7 separate regions of the Homo sapiens genome follow, and regions 1, 3, 4, 5, 6 and 7 are each linked to region 2. Evidence: promoter capture Hi-C in 16 types of primary human blood cells and fetal thymus (Javierre and others, 2016). All regions are on one chromosome and are shown on one strand. The core of a region is centred on a gene start or on the middle of the fragment in contact, and the rest is flanking DNA. Distances in the headings are between cores, read along the strand shown.

Evidence for each region. Contacts are between HindIII fragments. The CHiCAGO score rates a contact against its expected background, and 5 or more counts as called.
Region 1: a contact is called between a fragment that was not itself captured here and the fragment with the promoter of TUBAL3 in region 2, in 8 of 17 cell types (erythroblasts, megakaryocytes, total CD4 T cells and 5 more). The highest score is 12.0, in erythroblasts.
Region 3: a contact is called between a fragment that was not itself captured here and the fragment with the promoter of TUBAL3 in region 2, in 1 of 17 cell types (monocytes). The highest score is 5.1, in monocytes.
Region 4: a contact is called between a fragment that was not itself captured here and the fragment with the promoter of TUBAL3 in region 2, in 14 of 17 cell types (M0 macrophages, total CD8 T cells, M1 macrophages and 11 more). The highest score is 18.9, in M0 macrophages.
Region 5: a fragment that was not itself captured here is called in contact with the fragment with the promoter of TUBAL3 in region 2 in 15 of 17 cell types (M0 macrophages, M1 macrophages, total CD8 T cells and 12 more); the score reaches 13.6 in M0 macrophages.
Region 6: a contact is called between a fragment that was not itself captured here and the fragment with the promoter of TUBAL3 in region 2, in 10 of 17 cell types (erythroblasts, megakaryocytes, total CD4 T cells and 7 more). The highest score is 9.2, in erythroblasts.
Region 7: a contact is called between a fragment that was not itself captured here and the fragment with the promoter of TUBAL3 in region 2, in 10 of 17 cell types (non-activated CD4 T cells, M2 macrophages, monocytes and 7 more). The highest score is 11.9, in non-activated CD4 T cells.

Annotation. Positions count from the first base shown.
Region 1 is chr10:4,801,357-4,804,607 of GRCh38, reverse strand. No RefSeq gene overlaps it. Among named protein-coding and RNA genes, the nearest start is that of AKR1E2, 23 kb to the left of the region's middle. The HindIII fragment of the contact is 3,618 bases long and covers 9-3,251 here.
Region 2 is chr10:5,403,033-5,406,205 of GRCh38, reverse strand. TUBAL3 (tubulin alpha like 3) reads left to right here and starts at 1,378. Exons shown (of 4, transcript NM_024803.3): 1 at 1,378-1,416. The coding sequence starts at 1,414. The HindIII fragment of the contact is 4,190 bases long and covers 755-3,173 here.
Region 3 is chr10:4,777,410-4,780,651 of GRCh38, reverse strand. No RefSeq gene overlaps it. Among named protein-coding and RNA genes, the nearest start is that of AKR1E2, 47 kb to the left of the region's middle. The HindIII fragment of the contact is 5,828 bases long and covers 1-3,242 here.
Region 4 is chr10:4,855,260-4,858,550 of GRCh38, reverse strand. It overlaps a transcript of AKR1E2 not described here. Among named protein-coding and RNA genes, the nearest start is that of AKR1E2, 31 kb to the right of the region's middle. The HindIII fragment of the contact is 1,052 bases long and covers 1,058-2,109 here.
Region 5 is chr10:4,837,431-4,840,440 of GRCh38, reverse strand. AKR1E2 (aldo-keto reductase family 1 member E2) reads right to left here. Exons shown (of 10, transcript NM_001040177.3): 5 at 2,860-2,982; 6 at 615-712. Among named protein-coding and RNA genes, the nearest start is that of AKR1E2, 13 kb to the right of the region's middle. The HindIII fragment of the contact is 2,171 bases long and covers 169-2,339 here.
Region 6 is chr10:4,819,074-4,822,163 of GRCh38, reverse strand. No RefSeq gene overlaps it. Among named protein-coding and RNA genes, the nearest start is that of AKR1E2, 5.6 kb to the left of the region's middle. The HindIII fragment of the contact is 5,131 bases long and covers 1-3,090 here.
Region 7 is chr10:4,872,302-4,875,264 of GRCh38, reverse strand. It overlaps a transcript of AKR1E2 not described here and the pseudogene AKR1C6P. Among named protein-coding and RNA genes, the nearest start is that of AKR1E2, 48 kb to the right of the region's middle. The HindIII fragment of the contact is 5,702 bases long and covers 1-2,963 here.

The sequences.
Region 1 (3,251 bases), core at 568-3,067, 600 kb after region 2:
CAGAAGCTTAGCCAAACTACTATGAAAAACAGATACTGTATTAAGGGATTTTCTTGGGACAAAACAGCAGCTTTTTAAGTCAGCTCTGCATCTCTGGTTTGCACGGTTAGGCTTGATAATGGCACGCGTCTCAAAAGCCCGAGATGAGCGATGCCTTCGCTGCTCCTCATAGACGTACTACCAACCACTGGTAATTATGTCTTTAATCTTTTGAAGTAAAATGTTGTTGATTCTTTTCAGCTTGTATTTTTCTCTACATCTCATTAAAAGCCTACAATGAGTAAAAGTAATAGATGAAAAATTGATGTGGATGATGGAATCTAGAAATGAGACTTGAGAGCCTGATGCATCACCTGTCCATCGCTGGTTTTCAACACATTTCTTCTGCCCCTCATGGAAGGAGGTGGGACCCACACTTCCAGCCCTTTGGAGCCCCTGGGGAAACTCTGAGATATTCCAGTCCCCACCTCTGTGTGTTCTGATGTCACAGGTCCACTCCACAGGAGGACTGGAACACAGAGGTCTGACACAACAGCCAAATCTAAGCTGCACAACTCTATACCTCTAACAAGCAGTTTAGAAAATATGCTGATATTATCGTTTTTATAAAGAAAACCATTTCAAAATTCTGCATGTTTCAAGAAGTTGGAGATAATTTCCTTTATTTTGAGGAAGACAATACTGAACTATGGGAAGATGGACAAGGTTAGTTCCAGCACAGAGAGTCAAGCTCTCGACAGACATTGGCCTGGACACACAGAAGGACAGGGTTCAATACTCTCTACCAAGCAAGAAAATCCTTCTGTTTCCAGGCTACTGGGAAAGCTAGTTCAGAAAAGGTGGGCTCCATATACTCTCATTCCTTTCTGCACCCCTAAAATCCTGAGACAAAGACATATTCCTAAACTAGGCAAATGTTCAAGCAGTCATTGTAGATTCTGAAACCAAAGGGAAGTGTGATTTGCCTCTTGTTGTATTTATTTGTTGTGTTGTTTTTGTTTATTGTTACCCTTCCAAGTCATAATAAGTAACATTTGAGAAGCTGCACTAAGGTGTCAAATGTCGCTCTTGATTACAGGTCAAGTACAATTTCGACAAATATTATTTTAATTGAGTGATTTCTTAACAACGCAGTGTCCTCATTCTGGTAGATGGGCCAAAGAGGCTTAGCTTTATTGCTTTGTTAAAAGTCAGTCACTCTGTGATGAAAGATGCTATTTTGCACGGGCTACTCTATAGATCTACATGAGAGACCTCCTTGAGCTGTGGCTACTTTTCTGCAGGGTTAGGTAGGGATGTGCTCTCCATGGTTCCTGCCAGCAGGAATCCCTCCCTTCCCCTTCCTGGTGCTCCTCCTCCACAAGTACACAGTCCACAGACCTTGAACTTAGGTAGTGAGAGTAAGAAAGGAAGGGAAAAGAAAAAAAGAGGTAAAAATAAACATCTATAAGTTCCATATACACTGCTGTGAGCGAATGTGTGTGCTTTAGCAGGAGAAAAATATTTTAGTATTGAACAAGCCAACTCAACCCGGACTTTTCCTGCAGAATCCTCAAATAATTAAGCATCCAATAGAAAAAATTAAGCCAGTATGTGACATCATCTGGCCTAGTTTCAAGAACAACTCTACATTAAACATTCTTCACTCTTTCACCTGATGGGCAGGTTGAAGTTTGGCATTGCCTTATACCCCATCCCTTGCTGAACACTGGAAAGGAAGTCACCCCTATGATTAGTGAACGTGTGTCTACTTGTCTGGTCTTCTTCTCGTTCAACAACAACATAAACTACAAAAGCCTGGATTTTTTCTAGTGCTAGGAATTTGGATCATTTAAAACATCTGATCAAATTCAGGTAAAATAAAACTAGTGCAGAAATTACCTATGAAAGAAAAATTGAATAAGAATAAAAGATCAGTGTGTTGGTTGCTTTCCCATCAAACTTGTACAAGGATAACATAGGCTCAGATATGTAAACATCTAAAAATTAAGAAACATGTGACATGAAATGTACACAAAATTTAAAACATGAAACTATAGCAAACTGGCTATGTACTGTTGTGTATTTGCTTAGAAACAGAATATTTCAAGAATTGAATTTAACAATGCATGAACTTATTTACAATTAAAAACAACTTTATAAGGCATATTTCTCAATTTTAATACCCAATCCAACAGCCCAATAAAAGTGGAGAAGCCCTTAACACTTCTTGTATCTTTAAAAGACTAACATTTTCTTTAAGACTTACAACTAAATCTTTAAATAAGAATTAGCTATTTTAACATTAGAAGATAACAATTTTTTAAAGGACTGCATTGTTTTTGCTCAGAGAGTTGCATAGAAAAGGACCTTATCCTCCCCTCTTTTTCTGCTACATACACACACACACACACACACACACACACACATATATACACATCCCCCTCACAAATCAAGTCTTTTCATTTAAAACAAATATTTTGGATGAGGTAATCCTAAGAGTGTCTGAAAGACAACTGTCTCTTTTTTGGTGGGGGAAAGAGTGGAATTGGAGAGAAATCATAAAAAACACTGATGTAGATAATTAGTTGAAGAAATAATATTCATGTTTTTAATAAAATTTTTAAAATTCATCTAAAGCGGTTACTTTATTCATTTGTTTTTACATTAATTCATCTAACAACTATTAATTAAAACCACTAGGAAGTGGAAATTAAAATACTTAAGCAAGTCTTTTTGGTTGCAATTAACAAAACCCCTCTGAGCTGGCAGAATGCAGCACCAAGGGCTGTGGTACAGATCTGAGGCACCTAAGGGAAGGCAGAGGGGCAGCAGGGCCTCCCAGGGAACCATGCCACAGGCTCGCTGTGACCCAAGGTGACAAACCTCTCATCTCTGTGTCTCTCTTCTGCTTTGTTCTTTTCTCTCCTTGCAAACAAACATGTTCTGATTTTGGGTGTGCATGAGTCAAAACAACCCAAACTCTCCTCAGCCCTGCCTGCAGGACACCAGTTAAGCGGCTTACAGACACTCGTTAGAGTTTGAAATCCAAATCCACATTCCAGGAAGAGAGCATCCTGTTGGCCTTGCCCTGCTCTCATGACATCTCAGGTTCATCAGTTATACCTAGAATGTTTCTCAGGAAGGGGTTTGGGCTTGGAGAGTGGATCCAGGAGTTGTGAAATCAGAACAGAGCTTTCAATGCAAGGGTGCCCAACACCCCCGCTTCATGATCTGATAGAAAATCTGATAATGTTATATAACCACACAAA
Region 2 (3,173 bases), core at 129-2,628:
TATGGAAAGGTTTTAAGTTTCTAAGAATGTAAAACGATGGGAAAATACATCATTCAAATGTGAACCAAAAAACTGTATTAAAGTAGTAATATTAATATTTGATCATAAAAACTTTAAGGTAGGCCAAGGCGGGCAGATCACGAGGTCAGGAGATCAAGACCAGCCTGGCCAACATGGTGAAACCCTGTCTCTATCAAAAATACAAAAAAATTAGCTAGGAATAGTGGCACACACCTGTAATCCCAGCTACTTGAGAGGCTGAGGCAGAAGAATCGCTTGAACCTGGGAGGTGGAGGTTGCAGTGAGTTGAGATCGCACCATTGCACTCCAACCTGGACGACAGAGCAAGACTGCATCTCAAAAAAAAAAAAAAAAAAACTTTAAGGTAAAAATAATTAATGTATATAAGGAGGGTAATTTAAAAATAAAAAATTGTTAAAGTTTTTGAAAATATAATAATTTAAAATTTATGTGCTCTTCATAACATGGCCTCAAAATGTATAAAGGAAAAATTGACAGAAAAAGAAATAATGGGTAAATTCACAATTATAATGAAAACTTTTAATACATCTTTTGAAATAATTGATACGTAAAATTTGGACTACACAATAAATCCATTTGATTTAATAGATTGATTGATTGAATGATCGGTCTATCTAAAATATTGCATCCAACAAATGTAGAATGCACATTCTTTTCAACACTCATGGAATATTTTCAAAAATTGACCATATAGTAGAATATAAAGGAAGCTTTAGCAAATATATAAGGAGAGAACTCAGTTAAGATGTGTGATCTGATCTTAGTGCAATTAATAAAAAATAATAACATAAGTATATATTATGTATAATAATATAAAAGTTCAAAAGACAATAATAATAAAAACAGAAAATTCCCATATGTTTGGATGTGGTAGTGGTTGAGAGGCATGCATAGGACACAGATGTAAAAAGGACACTGTCTTGGTTTGCTGTATGTATTCAGGGATTGTTTAAATTTATTTAAGAAGATATTCACATAGTACTCATGCAATAGAAAAAGCTACTTTGCTGTTGCAGAAAATTTTACTCATACTCCTTCCTTTTCTCTGCCAATGCTAAATAAATTCTTAACCCAAAAGGGTGATTTTTAAAAGACACATGTTCTTTTCAACATAGTTATAAGTTGGACGCAGATTTGGATAAGCTCTCAGTAGTTCATCTGCAGCTGTGTACAAACTTTATCCCGGGTTGTTCAGGCCCAACACAGCTACTCTGAGACCAGATAACTAAAAAAACTAAAAAGAAGCTATACTGCTTTAAGTGAAGAAAGCTCCAGCCCTCAGGTGGAGTCATTTCCGGGCCCTGTGATAAAGCTCAGCTGGGAGGCTCCTCAGTCATTACTACAGGGCAGGAAGGGCACGTTCTCATCAGCATGGTAAGTGACTACACGCCTATGCATTGTTGTAGGAAATTTTACTAATCATATTTGGCCCTTTTCCCACAGCAAACAATTCTTAATAAAATTGTAATGCAAGAGAAGACATTTGTAAAGAAACATTTGTTTCTTTCAATGTCCAAGTAGATGAGTTGGGAGCAGATGTGGACAGGCTGTAATCTATTCCTCTGTAATGTTGCTTCTTTCAAGGTAAAGCTCAGTTGATTTGCAGTAGCTCACTGCCATTAATTGAAGCACTGAAGCAAAAACCTTTCCTTCCTTTAGTTTTCACCTTTGTTTTAGGCCCAGAGTGCTGATTTTTCTGTAGATATTCATTGCTTCACTTTTCGTTAGGCTGTTAAGAGTTTCTGAGGACTTCAGACTTAGGTAACCGTGGCTAACCTCATAAATGCCTGGCAGGGTAAAGTGCGCAGACATCTTCTTTGCCCTCCCTTGAGTTTAGTTCTTTGGGCACCACAATGAATAGAATAACTTACAATAATTCTGTTTTGGGATGACCTTTTCAGATCCATTTGCCCTTTATTTTTTTCTGTGCCAGTTTTTCAGTATCTTTGAATTTTTAATTCTTCAATGGAAGCAACATTTCGAACTGCTTCTTGATCTTTGATTTCTCACCCCATTGGTCTCTCTGTCCAACATTTAAAAAATTTTAAATTGTTTTGCTTTTAAAAATTATGCCTTTCAACATGAGAGAGACTTGTGATAATAGCATGTTCTGTATCTTATCACTGTCAACATTCTGGGTGTGATTTTGTATTATGGTCTTGCAAGATGTTTCCACTGCGGGAAATGGGTAACGGATGCAAGGGATCTTCCTATGTTATTTCTCACAGCTGCATATCAATCTACAAAGACCTCAAAATTGAAAGTTTAACTGAGAGTTATGCTTTTCTAGTAATTCAAATAATCCTTATAGCAGCGTTTAATAATGTGCTATGACTTATCAGTGTTGACGTTCAGTGGACATTTTATAGTCTTCTACTTTATAGTGTGACTAATATTTTCATAGAGAATTTGGAAAAAAAGGGAGAGGCTAAGAGAAGAATAAGGCAAAGATAGTCTTCTACACCCTTGGACAGAGTTATGTTATAAGCTAAGCTCCTTCAAAGACGAAGGATGCTTGTTAGTCCAGGCTATTCGTGCTGATTTCAAAAAGAACAGCATCACTCTGCTTTCTGAGTCACTTGAACAGACCACGTGAAGAGGAACAATCTTTTTTTTTTTTAATGTTAGTGATTATTTTTACTGTGACTATTATGAACAAATACCACATGTACACCTGAATTTTACTCGTCACTGTAACACAGGACTGGGTGGTAGCCAGTGGAGAAGACAGAGAAATCTACATGTAAACTTTACAAAGTAAGAGGTTTTAATGATGTAGAAACAATGAACGTTCACCCTCTCCTTTTAAAATGTTAACTTAAATTTAAGGAGCCAAGTTTTGATCAGATTACAGCAGCTGATGTATTTGCAGCACTTTAAGTCCGACAGAAGGGGAGAGGAATAAGATTAAGGTTATCTGAAGCCTGATAAGGGGTATTCGAAGCCTGTTTATAACAGAATATGCTGTCTTGAGAGGTGGAATATTAGTTTGTCCTAAATGAAGTGCTTTCTAAATTAGAGAGACTGATAGTTGCACAGAAAATAAACAAGATGGAAGCCCTACTAAGGTAGTGAACTTGAATTGGTCATGAAGCAGAGGGCTGTTATGCCTTGTGAATCACAGAGACAAA
Region 3 (3,242 bases), core at 105-2,604, 630 kb after region 2:
AGGACTGAGGCTGGTAAGTGATTTGAAGCAGTGCCTGATATTCATGCAAGAAGCTAGAAATGTCAGTTGCTGCTTGAGGTAAACATTTGTTTTCCAGAGTAAATGTTACAGCTTCTGCTTCTCATAACAGTGTCATTCAAGCATGTGTCTAAAGGACAGCAAGACATCATGGAAATAGCTTTCATTCTTAATCCATATTTGTGTTAAACTATAGAATCATTTAATCCACCAGCTCATTGTGATCATCAAAACAGAGAAGCTGCAAAATATTTCCTTCATTATAAAAATAAAACCAAGTGCTGCTCTCTGCTTCAGATTCCTTTTGAATACTAATGCATAAAAGCCAAGATTAAATTAATCTCAGCTGTCTCAGTCACACTTGGCTAATGAATCATAAAATAGTTTCATCTTCGTATGACAAGTTGCCCTTGATGGCAAATTAAAATCTTAATAAGGGTTTTTAAAATACGCATGCATATATACATGCACAATCTCTTTCATTAGAGCCCAATGTCAAAATACAAATTCTTGCTTTGCATTTCAGATATTGTAAACTTTTGAGAACATCTTCTAGATCTTTTTATCTGGTGGCTTCAAATTCTGTGTATGCAAATGCCTTTAACTTAACCTTCGAAATAATTGTTTTGGAAATCTTGATAGAGTTATTGGATAGTGGTTTGTTTTTAAAAATTATATGTATGTCATTTGTTAACTACTTACTTAAATAATGCAAAAATTAATGGTATAATTTTCTACCTCCCATGCTTCCTCAAGAACGGTGGCTTCTTTGGGGCCATGATGTAACGGAGATGTCAGAGACCAATTACAGAGGCAGATTGCCGCAGTGCTAGGGAGGAGAAAATTTTGGAAAAGGAGATGAAATGAATAAATAACAAAAGCAGTAACAGCAAATTAAACTTTAGCTTGAATTTTATATAGCACGTACTGGTAAAAATATTGTTTCAAATAACAGTGGCTGTATGGAACAGTGCTTCTCAAACTTTCATATGCACACACACCACCCGGAAATCTTGCTAAGTGTAGATTCTTACTCAGTAGATCTCAGGTGGAGACAAGAGTGCATTTCTAACCAGCTACCTGTGATGCTGATGTGCCTGATCCATGGGAAACATTTTGACAAGCAAGGCACAGCATAACGCACATGTAAATAGAATATTTTATTTTGTTGAAGATATAAATCCAATTTTAGAAAAAGGTGTATCTAAGCAGGTAGTTATAGTTTTTCTACATATGGCAAATTAGCCGGCTAACTTCAAATACCTTTTTCTGCCTACCTTTGAATTCTCTTTCTTGGAATTCTCAACATTGGCTTAATCTCATATGAGATTTGACTCAAGGGATTCCTAATGAGACATATTAGTTTAGTTGTTTTTTTAAAAGAAAAGTGAGAAAAATGGCAAAATATAAATTAAGAAGAAAAGCATAATTTTAAAATGATTATTACTTTTTTATTTGATTTGTTGGCTGGAAAAGGGTATGGCATTTTATATTTCTCAAAGTGGATTTAAAACAAGATTTAGAATATTACATCTAATTCTAACAATTTACTAATCATCAATAATTCTTACTTAAGCACCAAATCTGATGCTCACTGGAACAAGTATGTATTCAATTGTAATAATGTTTATGCCAGGTTAAAACTCCAATCCAAATGCCAAGACATTTAGAAAACTAAATTCTTAGATGTTATCTCAGGACTTTTTTTTCTCTTTTTCCAAAGAGAGAACAATGTTATTGATGCACTGACCTTTCTCCCAGATTCTAAACTCAAATGATTGTTTAAAAAGCAAAACTCTTACAGTCAAACTGCATACTTATTGTTTGAATGCTTCATAGCAAATCTCTTTAATAGATGTATTAGAATAAAATGTTTGTTGCACATCAATTCTATTATCCTTTTTTGTAGAATGCAGAGCCGAGGTACACTGTGACATCCAAGACTGCTGCCGGTTCTAGAAAAGCCGAATATAAGGAACAGGAGTCCGTTAGGGGCTTCTTTTATAGATGAGTCATATAAAACCATATGGAAAGACCCGAGGAAGATTTACCCATTGTTAAATTTAAATTCCTTTGAGTTATGGGAATTTAATTTTAGAAATATATACTTGGATTATGATATTTTTGCCTAGTGTGACAATACAAAGTGATAGGACTCAAACAAAAGATTCCTAACAACAGTAATATGCTACTCTTTCATTAGAAAACTATGAATCAGTGACTTTTAATGTGACATAACTGTTTTTATTGCAAAATATTTTCATATATTAAGTGTCAAATGACTATCACCTAAAACAAATTAAATTTTTACACATTTAAAAATTACGGGCATTACGTATTTTAAAATAAACTTTTTATTTTAGAGTGGCTTTAGGTTTATAGAAAAATTGTAACAATTAGAGGGTTTCCACACATCCCCCACTGTTTCCTCCTTCTGTCATTAGCATCTGATCTTAGTATGGTGCATGTGTCACAATTAATAAAGCAATATCAACATATTATTCCCTAAAGCCCCTAATGTATTTAGATTTTCTTGTTTTTTACCTATGTATTTATTTAATTTTTCTGTCCCAGGATCCTACCCCACCCAGGACACCATGTTAGTTACAGTTATTATGTCTTTTTAGGCTTCTGGCTATGACAGCTTCTCAGATTTTGTTTCTAATGACCTTTTTTGACGGTTTCAAGGAGTACTGGTTAGATGTTTTTCAAAATATGCCTAAACTTGAATTTGTCTGTTGTTTTCTTTTTTCTCATTATTAGACTGAGGTTGTGATTGTTGGGAATAAGATTACAGAGGTAAAATGCCATTTCTATCACATCAGTACTGGCTATTTGCTGTTATTGCTAACATATCACTGTTGATGTTAGCTTTGAACACCTGGTAAGGTAGGGTTTTTCAGGGGTTTCCATGACAAAGTGTCCGATTTTGTCCACTTTTCCACTCTGTATTCTTAGAAAGGGAAGTCATGGCTGGACGCGGTGGCCCAGGCCTGTAACCCCAGCACTTTGGGAGGCCGAGGCGGGCGGATCATGAAGTCAGGAGATCGAGACCATCCTGGCTAACACGGTGAAACCCTGTCTCTACTAAAAATACAAAAAATTAGCCGGGCATGGTGGCGGGTGCCTGTAGTCCCAGCTATAGCCTGGGTGACAGAGCAAGACTCTGTCTCAAAAAAAAAATAAATAAATAAATAAAAAATAAAGGGAAGTCACTATGTAGC
Region 4 (3,291 bases), core at 334-2,833, 550 kb after region 2:
CTCTCTGTAGTTCTATGCTAACTTGTGTTACCTCAATTGAAGCACCAATTGCATTGAAATAATTATTTGCTTACATGACTATCTCCACCATTTAATATTGTGGTAAAGACCAAAGACAATTCATCTATTCATTTTTAATGGGGAATATAGGATTCAGCCTGCTGTAGGCTCAATGAATGAATGAATGAATGAATGAAGAAATAAATGAGTGGGTCTATATAAAAACAGTACCCAACTTTCCTTTTTTTCTTCATATATGTAAGATCTACTCATATGCTTACTGACTCCAATTTTCAAATGGCCTAAAATTGATCTTCTCAAATTTGTTTCCCTGGAGTAGTTAACACTATGAGCTACGTCAAACAAAGTCAAAGAATAAGTATGACTCATTTTGACTCGTTTTCCTGAAATGTCAATGAAAGAAATTGACAACATAGATAATATTTATATTAAAACTAACATGGTAAAATCAACAAACTAACTTTACATCCTAAGGAACTAGAAAAAGAACGAAACCGAATCTAACAGAAGGAAGGAAATAATAAAGACAAGAGAAGAGATATATAAAATAGAAAATATTTACAAAGGTAGAAATAAACAACAATGAAACAATGAGTTGGTTCTTCAAAAAAGGTCAACAAAATTGAAAAACATTTAGCTTGCTTTACTAAGAAAATTAAAAAATGATAAGACTCAACTGAAATCAGAAATTTAAAAACTCATTTAAATAAAAAAAAGTATGAGAGAGTAGTGTAAAAAGTTGTATGCCAGCAAGTTAGATAACCTAGATAAAATGAACAAATCCATAGAAACACATAACCTACCAATACTGAATCATGGATGAATCTTTTTAAAAATTTTTATTTTTATTTTTAATTTCTGTGGGCATATAGCGGGTATATATATTTATGGAGTACGTATTAGTCTGTTCTTGCATTGCTATAAAGAAATACCTGAGACTGGGTAATTTACAAAGAAAAGAGGTTTAACTGGCTCACAGTTCCACAGGCTGTATAGAAAGCATGATGCTGGCATCTGCTCAACTTCTGGGGAAGCTTCAGGAAACTTACAATCATGGCAGATGGGAAAGAGGGAGGGGCACTTCACATTGTTGGAGCATGAGGAAGACAGAGAAGATGTGTGTGTGGGGGGTACTACACACTTTTAGATAACTAGATCTTATGAGAACTCATTCACTATACAGTACCAAGTGGGGGATGGTGTTAAACCATTCATGAGAACTCCAACCCCATGATCCAATCACCTCCCACCAGGTTTTACCTCCAACACTGGGGATTACAATTGAACATGAGATTTGGGTGGGGAAACAGATCCAAACCATATCAGGGTACATAAGATGTTTTGGTACAGCCACGCAATGTGAACTAATGAATTATGGATGAGTCTTGAAAACAATATGGTAAGTGAAATAAGCCAGGCATAAAAAGGCAAATATTGTGTGATTCTACCTATATGAGGTCCCTAGAGGAGTCAAATGTATAGATCAAGAAAGTAGACTTGTGGTTGCCAGGGGTTGGAGGAGGAGGGAATGGGGAGTTATTGTTTAATAAGTAGAGAGTTTCAGCTGGAGAAGATGAAAATACTCTGGAAGTGGATGATGGTGATGGTTGCACAACAATGTGAATGTACTTAATACCACCGAACAGTAGAGTTCTACAGTTGATTATAAACCATCTTCTAAAGAGGACCAAAACAAGGCAAAAATTGTCCATGGATGACAAAAGTCTCAGGACAGTTACAGTCAAAAACATAATTGACAAAGAAATTTGGTTACCTCTGTGCCATGGAATGATTTTATGTAACAACTAGTGTATTAATAACATACACTAAGTCATATCAGAATTATAGCAGTTTCCCATAATTTTGGAACATATACTAATAATACATTTATACAAACACACCTGAAAGAAAATCAAACACCATTTCATATTTGACAATGCTTCCTGTATGACTTTTATACCAAATAAGTCAACTGTCACTGTTGCATTAGTGCATTATTGATGTCAGACCTAATTCTTAATAAAACCTTATAGATAAATGTATCCAATCGTATTCACTTTGACCATAAGGTAAGATTCTTATAAAGCTTTTATAACCCTTTATAATTTTTGTTAAAGAGCAGGTCATAAGCAGGTTTTTGCTCTAAGAAAAACCTGTTGTGCTTTTATTCCAATATTCAGTCTACAAAAAGCTAGATAATACCCCTTTAACTTTAGCCAATATGTTCACAAACAGAATTTCTTTTACAGGATTAATTTTTCACAAACCTTCCACGACTAGCTTAAACCTTCAGCTTTACTCTAACTTAAGACAATTATTTAACCCTTTAGCAGAAAAATCTACATTCCCATGACTTCTTATAGTCTTTTACCAAAAACATATTCTACTTTCTTTACATACCTTGCATGTAGAACAGTTTCTCCAGTAGTCTCAAATATATGTTACACTGTTAACTCTAAGCGACTTTTACTTTTGGTGAAAAACCTTGGTAAGTTTGGGATTTTAATTTTGTACTAGGTGTGCAGGCTAGGACAGCAGACAGAAGTTCAGGTAAGGGCTGACTGTTTCCTGCACAGCTAGGGGGCATGGCTCTCCACATGTCCCCAGGCCTTATCTAGAATCGAATGCTCCGAACTAGGTAAATTGAACAATTTTCAAAAGTCTAAGAAGCAGTTTATGCCCTTAAAGCATTTAGCAAACCTAATATTTGACCTGCCTAATTTAGACCAAATGTATTTATTTTACCAATAATCTTTAAAACTGTCTTTATTTCCCAAAGATTACTTAAGTCACATGAACTAAAAGGCATTACACTTTTTATTTTTCTGACAAAATGTTTGATTTAAGCTCTTATTCTTTTTAAGCCAATAAATTAAAGCTCTTTCGTATGTAAACATTACATGCACAACACATACAAATACAGACAGAGAGAAGATAAAGGACTCATTCCCTAAGCCAGGAATTGGACCTGAACCTGGGCTGCCATTGTGATGGCAGAAACCAAGAGAAAGTACTGCCACATGGTTACAAGGTCAAGCTCGCAAGGACACACAAGACAAGGGGGAAACCTCATCCGGTTTTTTTCTGGGACCTGCAGCAAAGTTTATAACTGACACGTCTGCTTGGCCATCTTGAACAGCAGGTGTATAGCTGTCCTAAGCCCATATTCTATTCTAAGATACTCCTCCTTATGACAGAACAATACAGAAAGACACACAAAGCACATCAGATTTGCCCCAACTTATGACTAGCCTCACAAATCCTTTTTTC
Region 5 (3,010 bases), core at 5-2,504, 570 kb after region 2:
GAGCTGAGGGGCTCCTCTAATGACCTCGGGAATGCTACTTAACTAAGGCAGTGACAGTGATGGCAGAAATGAAATCATGAAACAAAGTCCAACTTCTCCTGGCAGAATAATCAATAGATTTTGGTGCTGGATTGGACTCGGGATGTGGGAAGGGATGATTTCCAAGCTTCTGGCTTAGGTGGCTGAATGGCTGGAGGTCTCTTAGCTGATCTTGGGAGCACAGTACAGCTGCAGGAGGGCCTGGGTAAAGATGACAGCAGGCTTTGCCTCATCCAACCATGGAGAGGCCTGGGGAGCATCCTTGTCAGGAGGTCAGAAGGGGGCTGACACCCTGGTGGGGAACTCAGCAAAGGGGTCACTCCAGGCTGATTTACGTCCCTGAAGAGGTCCTGACCCTCCCAGGGCAGCCCACTCACAGCCACTCCCTGGCTTCCAATAATAAACCATGCCTTCAATCCCAGGCTTGAGAGGTGTGGACAGCCCCCTATAGTACCATCCCTCCACACCCTGTCAAAACCTCCATTAAGCCCTCCCTCAGTCATCCCAAGGAAATGAGAAGGTGGCATCTACTTCCCAGTCGGACTCTGACTAACACACCACTGAGGTATCCTTACCACGAGCCACCAAGAGGACGGTAAGCAGTCACGGACACATCTCTGGATTGGCAAAAACTGATCAGATTCTTCTGAGTAAGATATGGGTGGCACTCAATCTATAACAGAATCATAGCTTACATAAAATTCAGACCACTAGTGTTCAAGAAAAGCTCTACAAGAGAAGACCTGCGTCAAAGTCTTGGCTGTCACCGAGTAGCCATGGGGCCCAGCTCCAGGCCTAAGTGTTTCTGTTGTGAGGAGTCTGGACAGAGCAATCTCCAAGAGGCCAGCAGGTGTCATGGTCTCTGAGTCCACGGCCTTGGGGACACCTACATCATCTGAATGTTCCAATACCACCTGCTCTGCAGGGCCTTCCCTGAGCACTCAGATAAAGATTGTTAACACACCATAGCTCTCATCTCCCCCGGCCTTTATTTTCCTCTACAGCATCTATCACTATCTGACATCTCATAGATTTTACATATTTGCTCACTGTCTTTCTGTGTCACCAAGATCTAAGCCTCATGAAGATAGAGATTTTTGTTTGAATTTGTTTTGTTCATAGATGTCTCACCAACACTAAGAACAATCTAGACATGTAGGAAGTGCTAAAAATATATCCACTGAATGAATGAATGAAATTGAGGAACTACATGTGACAAATACATTCTACAGGTGACTTGAATGAAAATTTTAAGAAGCTAGAGAGCAGGATCTCTGTCTCTTGCACATTCTCCAAACTCTCACATATAATTCCAGGTTATAAGGAGATTTAAAATAAATAGTTATTTAGTGTAAATTACAGAGAACTATGAATAGTGCGTTTGCTCTCAGGAACATGCCAAGCTCATCAAGATCAGCCTGTTTGGAAAGCCTCCAAAAGAGAGGCCAGCCCTTCTGGAGCCTTCCGCATCCTGTGTTCCTGGTGTCCATCAACCTAACAGAAAGCAGACCCTCCACCCCACTTTGTCTACTCAGACTATGCCATAATCATTCCCAGGTATTTAAAGTGCTGAACAACTAAAAATACTGACACAAAACGGAAGCTACTATCCATATAAACATATATCAAAACTTATATATATAGGGTTGTATACAAGGCAAAGCTGAACTACATGAGAAGCTGGGTCAGAAGCCAGGTTGCTCTTCATGGTGGTGGCTACAACAGGACCCAGGGGAGCTACTGAATGGCTGAGGGCTTTTTTCTTGTTCTGGGTGCTGAATACTTGAGTTTGTTCACTTGCAAAAATTCATCAAGCTATGTATGCCTTTTATGATTCACACACTTTTCTGCATCTACTCCATACAGAACTTTTTTAAAAAGCATATTTATTCAAAAAAATAGAACATGATGCTCTATTCTTAATAGTCCCAAACTGGAAACTGTCTAAGTGCCCATTAACAGCAGAATGGATAACTCAATTGTGGTTAATTCACAAAACAGAATACCACAAGAAATAAGAGAGCACTATCTACAATCACATGTACAGAAACACAGTGCTGTGTGAAAGAGGCGAGCACAGAGGGGTTTATGTTGCATTATTATTTTATTTTACCTGTGTAAAGTTCAGACGTGAATCCCAGCTGCTGGGAATGGGAATGATGCTGTGCTCGGCAGGGGTTACAGGGGCACTGGACGTGCTGTTTACTGAGCTGGATGCTAGTCCCAGAGCTATGCTCAGTTTATGAGAATTTATACAGTTCCATTTTCACATGTGCACTTCTACTCTTCAATAAAAAGCTTAAGTACTGTATAAATGATCTTTGAACATACAAAGCTAGTCTAGAAAATACAATAGTTATTTCCCCACAAGTCTTTTCTCTGCATTAAAAAAACGAAGTGCCTGCATCACCTTCAGCAGCCTGTGAGCCTCGCGTGAAGCCATCTAGTCATCCACTCTTTCTTGCTGCAGTCTGCAGGCTGGGAAGAGGTAGAGGGGAGGCCCATGTTCCTGGATAAGGGTGAGGCACCTGCCAGGACCCTGACTGCTTCTGAGTACACCTGGTGACCTGCCTGCACTGCACATGGAGGGCCAAGCACCAGCTCATGCCCTGCCTGCCAACAGTACCATCTACCCAGATGCACCTTCAAGAAAGCCACTTGCCTAGCTGCTGCCTTTAATCACCATTCTGAGTGCTGCCAGAGGAGAACAGGCCTGTTTTGTGCTTCACCCATTCTTCCATTTCCAGAAGAGCCCTGTGGAGGTGGCAGCTGGGGGACCAGCCACACAGGTTAAACTCTCTGATGCTTCCATCGGCTTACCTGGTTGGTTAGTGGCTTGAACCTCAACCCAGGCTTATTCAAAAGCCTCTCAAGCTGTTCATGGTTGAAGTTTGACACCCCGATGTTCTTCACCAGCCCGGTGATCACCAGGTCCTCCATGGCCTATAAGAGAACGACTCTGCTGGGTGTG
Region 6 (3,090 bases), core at 230-2,729, 580 kb after region 2:
AGATAAGAAGTACTGATGAATAGAAATGGGGAGAAATAATTTTTTGGTGGTTGAGCAGTTTTATTTAAAGATTCTCAACATATAACACATTGTCAAGGGAAAAGGGAGCATGAATATGAAGTGCAGCATGAACACACTTTTTAAAAGTGCATTTTGGTAGCTCCATGGATAGCCTGTTCTTAAGGATGAGGGAAGTTAACGCTGGGAGTGAGTGAATATTTTAGGTTTAGATATAGGCATTTCTTTATCTAGTTGCTTTATTGGGTATCTTACACTGAATAATAATGTATAGGGAATAGTCTCTCTGGGGCATCTTTGCACAGTGGCTCATTCTAAATCCCCATCACTGGTGCATGCATTGAGGGAATAACACACATCTGCTACAGCCTGTGTGTATGTTTCTCAGTGTTTGACACAGCTTCACACAACCTTCATCATCACCTCAGCAAACTCAGGGCTAGACCTTTTGAGACAACAGAGCAACAAGTGTGATTTCTCTGCACACATATGATGTTGAGAGATGAGGACAGGGAGAAGTGCAGAAACAACAGCACACCTTTTGTTTTTTTTTTTTGCAGCTGGACAGATAAGCACACTCAGGGGAGAAAACGTAGGGTCCACTAGGGATGAGAGAGTAGAAACCAGCAACAGAAATGCCAGCTGCCCATGAAGAATCAAAGAAGCAGCAAACAAAAGCTAAACGCTGTCCTGCTGGTGGCAGCTCTGCTAAGCCTGTTTTGATAGACTTGAATTTTTGCACACCTCACAACAAAGCACTCAGCCTTTCAGTTCTTGCTTTGAGTCAATTGTTCTAATAACATCATTAACCCGGGGAACAGCACTAAGTGATTCTGTTTGGGTTGAAGCCAGTAAGAAGCCCAAGGACGAAATGTACCACTTCATGCCGAATCTTTACAAACACCATTCCTGGCACTAAAGGTTTACTTGACTTTTCTCCCCAGTAGCCAAGGGACCTATCTTCTGCCAAGGTTTCAATGGAGATGGCCAATCGGAGTCATCTAAGCCAAAATAAACCTCTTTTTGTCCTCCAAGAGCAGATTTGCTTGTGTGAATGATGCAGTTGTTATCTTGCCAAGTCAACAGCTTTAGAAGTGAATAGACTACTTAGAGGCCGGGGATTATACATGTACAAAAAGGGGAAAGACTCCACAAAGAGGATGTGAGATTTATGAACTTTGAGAAATAGCATTTGGCTGAGCCAGTGACGACAAGATCAAGTAGGGAAGCATGGGCCTCTGCGCCGAACCACTGTGCTAGAGCTTTGTGGACAAGAAATTCCATTTGTCTGGTTATTCACCAGGACTCCAAGTATACTGTTTTGTCTAATAAGAAGCTAAAATGGCCAAGTTCAGCTCAAAGGAAATACCACGGCCACTCAGGCAGCAATACTAGTTTACAGAATCTGGACAAAATTTAACTGCTGTAATGGAAGAGGGCTCAAGAAGGAATGCATGAAGTCTATACCTTAAGTTCTGTTTAAAGTGACACAAAAATAATAGCTTGTCATGTGAGCAACCAAAAAAAAAGCATCATGTGGCCAGATGCGTTGGCTCATGCCTGTAATCCCAGCACTTTGGAAGGCTGAGGCGGGTGGATCACAAGGTCAGGAGTTCGAGACCAGCCTAACCAACATGGTGAAACCTTGTCTCTACTAAAAATACAAAAATTAGCCAGGCGTGGTGGCGCATGCCTGTAATCTCAGCTACTCAGGAGGCTGAGGCAGGAGAATCGCTTGAACCTGGGAGGCAGAGGTTGCAGTGAGCCAAGACTGTGCCACTGCACTCTGCCCTGGGTGACAGAGCGAGACTCTATCTCAAAAACAAAAAGCATCATGTTTTTTAGTCATAAATGGATTACGACAGAAAAAAAAATCACTGTGGTGTACTGTCAGAAGGCCCTCAAAACACTTTCCAGTATTCAGAGTGCAGAGGAAAAAAATCGGGAGGAAATTCTGCTTGTAAGTGCTCATTAGACATTCCCAATAAAGGAAAATCCCTTCTTCAAATCTCACATAAACTGGCCCCACATACACAGAAAGCAACCGGTAAGTTGCTAAAGTAAAGGATGAAAAGGCAGCCACAAATAATAGTCCACGAGTTTCTGAGGACAAGATTATGATATTATAAGGAGCTCTTTTTCACTGAAGTTGCCCAACGCCAACTATCCTATCTTTTACCACAACTTAACTGTTAGACTTTCACCAGAAATGTCTGCCTTATCTTTGTCTCATGATGAAAATAAAGACTGTCCAAGCAACCACAAGAACCATAAATGTGGTTCTCATCGATGGGGACACACGGGGGACAGCGACTTGTCAATCTCAGACTGTGCAGGCATATACCCTTCAAAGCAGTGGTTCCTCTGCATTATAGCACTGTGTGACACAGAGAAAAAAAATAGAAACAGACGATGGTCTGTAGCAAGGTTGCTTCTGGAGGTATTAAATTATGCATCTCTCCTCTCTCTGCTTCTCCTTCTTCCCTCTTTCTTCATTTCCTGCTGTACCCTCTCCATGTGGCTTTAATAACTGCGAGCTTCTGCCTGTATCTGAAATGGCTACAGGTGTTGCCATCACATTACCAATGTGTTGATTTAATAGAGTATTATTGTGGCATTTCACTCCACTGCCTGAACTTTGTGGAAAATGGCAACCTTGAATGGGGTGGAAGACACTCATCTCCCCCTCAAGTGAATTCTTTGCAGATTTATGTCTATCAGTGATTGATTATGACCGACCTCCACATGTTATCCAGTTCCAATAAAATTTTAGTTAAATAGAAGCCTTAAGGAGAGTAATCCCTGCTCTCTCAAACATCACTACAAGGGGATCCCATTTCTAGTTCAAATTCAATCTTGAAGTAGTTTCCTTTTAAGCTGAGTCAGTTAGAATTAACATGGATTGAAAGAAAAAAAGATTAAACAACTTTTGAAAATAATTGTAACTACTGAAATGACAATAACTGAAATTTATTGAGAATACCGTACTTCAGGTATTGTGCTAGGACATTTACCTGGCTTATCTCATTTAACAATTATTTGGTGGAATCTAACAATTTTAAATTGCTCACA
Region 7 (2,963 bases), core at 332-2,831, 530 kb after region 2:
TCAGAACTTTGCTCAGGTCTGGGGGGGTTTTCAATAGTAAAGAGTAAGCAGGTTCGGAAAATCAAGAAGGAAAAAGGGAACAGGCTGAGTATCAAGCAAATGGAGGTGATAATGAAAATCCAATGGCAGGAAAAAAGTTATTTCCAAAGATAGACTTTTAATGGCCCTTCAAACTTTTAGACTCTATGATTCTCAGAAGGCTGTAGAGAAAAATCTGTAAGCTATTTTTTTTTCTGTTCAGTGACATTTAGTACATATATGTATGTAAACATCTCCAAACACGGGAAGAGCAAGCAATCCAGTAGCTCCTGGACAGACTCCCATCCTCCCCTGCCAACCAGCCCCTTAACTCCCTTGAGGCTAACATGGTCTTTGTCACTGTTAGTTCAGTCACTACAGGAGCCTAAAATTCCTGGTTCCCAAATAGCTCTGTGTACACCACCTCAACATGTTTTCACTGTGCTTTCTGAAACTCCTACTCAACCACTGGCAAAACCGTTTTATCTTTGTTGTCTTCTCTAAATGTTCTTTTCACCTTTTCCCAATAGCTGAAACCCCATTTCTCTTGGTAGCACTGATTCCTGTCAGCCCTCTCCAGTTGGGGCTGTTATCCTTCCCAAGACCTTAGTAGTGCTAAGCCTGAATATTGAGTAGGAACTCTCTTTCTAAAAGCATTCAGCTCTGGACTTTGTGTCATCAGACAAACCCAGCACTACCCCTGTCCTTTGCAGTCATCAGGGCTGCATTCCCAGGTCTTCTCTCATCCACCGAAGATTTTAGTTCCTAGTTTTCATCCTCTCCAACAGTAGACCTGCCATAATTTCTTTTGATTTCAACACTACAGAGACAGTCCTTGTAATAGTCTGATCTTTCAGTTTTGTGACTTTCCTCTTCCAATGTGTTTATCCTTCAGTCTAACTCAGCCTATCAACCTAATGGTCTCATTCTAGACCTTGTCATTACGAGTTACTATAACCATGCCTGGATGTCAATTTTAAATTCTTACACTATAGTCATCACCTCCTACATGTCCCGCTCCTTCTCTACATGGCCAACTTCAACAATCCTTTGATTACCACATGAGCTATAATTCACTGACCGTACCACCTTTTCACTGTTACTTGACCCTCTAATGTGCCCTCTGTCCTTCTTTGCCTACTTAAATTATGGGGTCAATCAATATACCAACATCCTTGTAAATACCCTCAACCCTTGCCATTTCTTCTAATGTTCTTTGCTGGTTTCTCTGCATTAGCTTGACCTCTCAGTTTTGGAGTGACTTAGAGCTCAACCTAGACCTCTTCTCCTTTCTCTATCTACTTTAACATCATTGTTGATTTCATCTAGTCTCATGCTTCAAATATCATCTAAATATAGATTCCCCAAATCATATCCAGCCCAGTTCAAGGCTCTGGAGCAAGGTTTGTATATGTGTCTACTTGCCTCTACTTGGATATCTACTATGCATCTCCAACTTATCATGTCTGTAACTGGGCTCATACTGGTATCTGCAATCCCTTCCCCAATACACACAGACACACAGACACACACACACACACACACACACACACACACACACCCCACACTCATACCGATATCTTTATGATAAAGTAACTGGCTCCTGGTAGTGCTCCCTCTTCTGTACTTCAGCACCAGGCATAGTAGCCACAGTGAACAGGTTAAAAAGGGTGTACACAGGAACTCCTCAATATGTGGGAGACTGCCATCTCACTCAGAGTTGAGACCAAATTCCTTACACAGACCTACAAGGGCCAATAGACACTCCCTCCCTTAACTCTCTGTGTCCCTGTCCTGCTATTCTCCCCACTCTTGACTCCAATGGAGCACCAGTGACCTCCATGCTGTTCCTGACTGTATTAGTCCATTTTCACACTGCTGATAAAGACATACTCAAGACTGGGTAATTTACAAAAGAAGAGAGGTTTAATGGACTTACAGTTCCAAGTGTCTGGGGAAGCCTCACAATCATGACAGAAGGCAAGGAGAAACAAGTCGCGTCTTACATGGATGGCAGCAGGCAAAAAGAGAGCCTGTGTAGAGAAACTCCTGTTGTTAAAACCATCAGATCTCGTGAGACTCATTCACTATCACAAGAACAGCGCAGGAAAAACCCACCCTCATAATTCAACCACCTCCCACTGGGTTCCTCCGACGACACATGGGAATTGTGGGAGTTACAATTCAAGATGAGATTTGGGTGGGGACACAGCCAAACCACATCACTGACATATGTCAGGCCTGTCTTAGGGCCTTTCCACTGGCCATTCCCCCTGCCTAGAAATCTCTTTCCCCATAGAGCAGGATTGCTCACTCCTTTACATCCTTCAGGTCTTCACTCATATATCACTCGATGATGCCTTCTCTGTCACTTATCTAAAAATGCAACTCGTCCTAGAAGAGCCTTTCTCTCTATTCTGATTTATTTTTGTGCTTGACACATATCCCTAACTTACACACCATATATTTTACTAGTTTATTTAGCTTATTTTATCTTTACCACATTAGAGTGTTAGATTCTAAGGGCAGGGTTTTTGTTTTGTTTTTGTTCTTAAACTAGTCTCTCCCTGGGTACTCAATACATATTGGTTGAATAAATAACATAATAAAATGAGAAACAGGGTAGGGGTAACAGAGAGTGGAGATGCAGGCAGGAACCCCTAACAATAAATATCAGTAATATTAATCAACAATAACTATTCAATGACTTGGCATTTTCTATGTCAAAAATTATTACTTCATATACAGAAAGAATTTGTATCCCCCTTGCTAAAATGGAACTACCCCATTGAAGTGACTTCATCTTCTAACCACTGTATCTCTCTCTAGGTATAATATAAAATTTTCTCCCAAGAAAAGTCATAGACAAATCATTTCTGAATGTTTGACATACATTGAACAGTAATAATTTTATCACCTTCCTCATTATCACCTTAAAATATTTA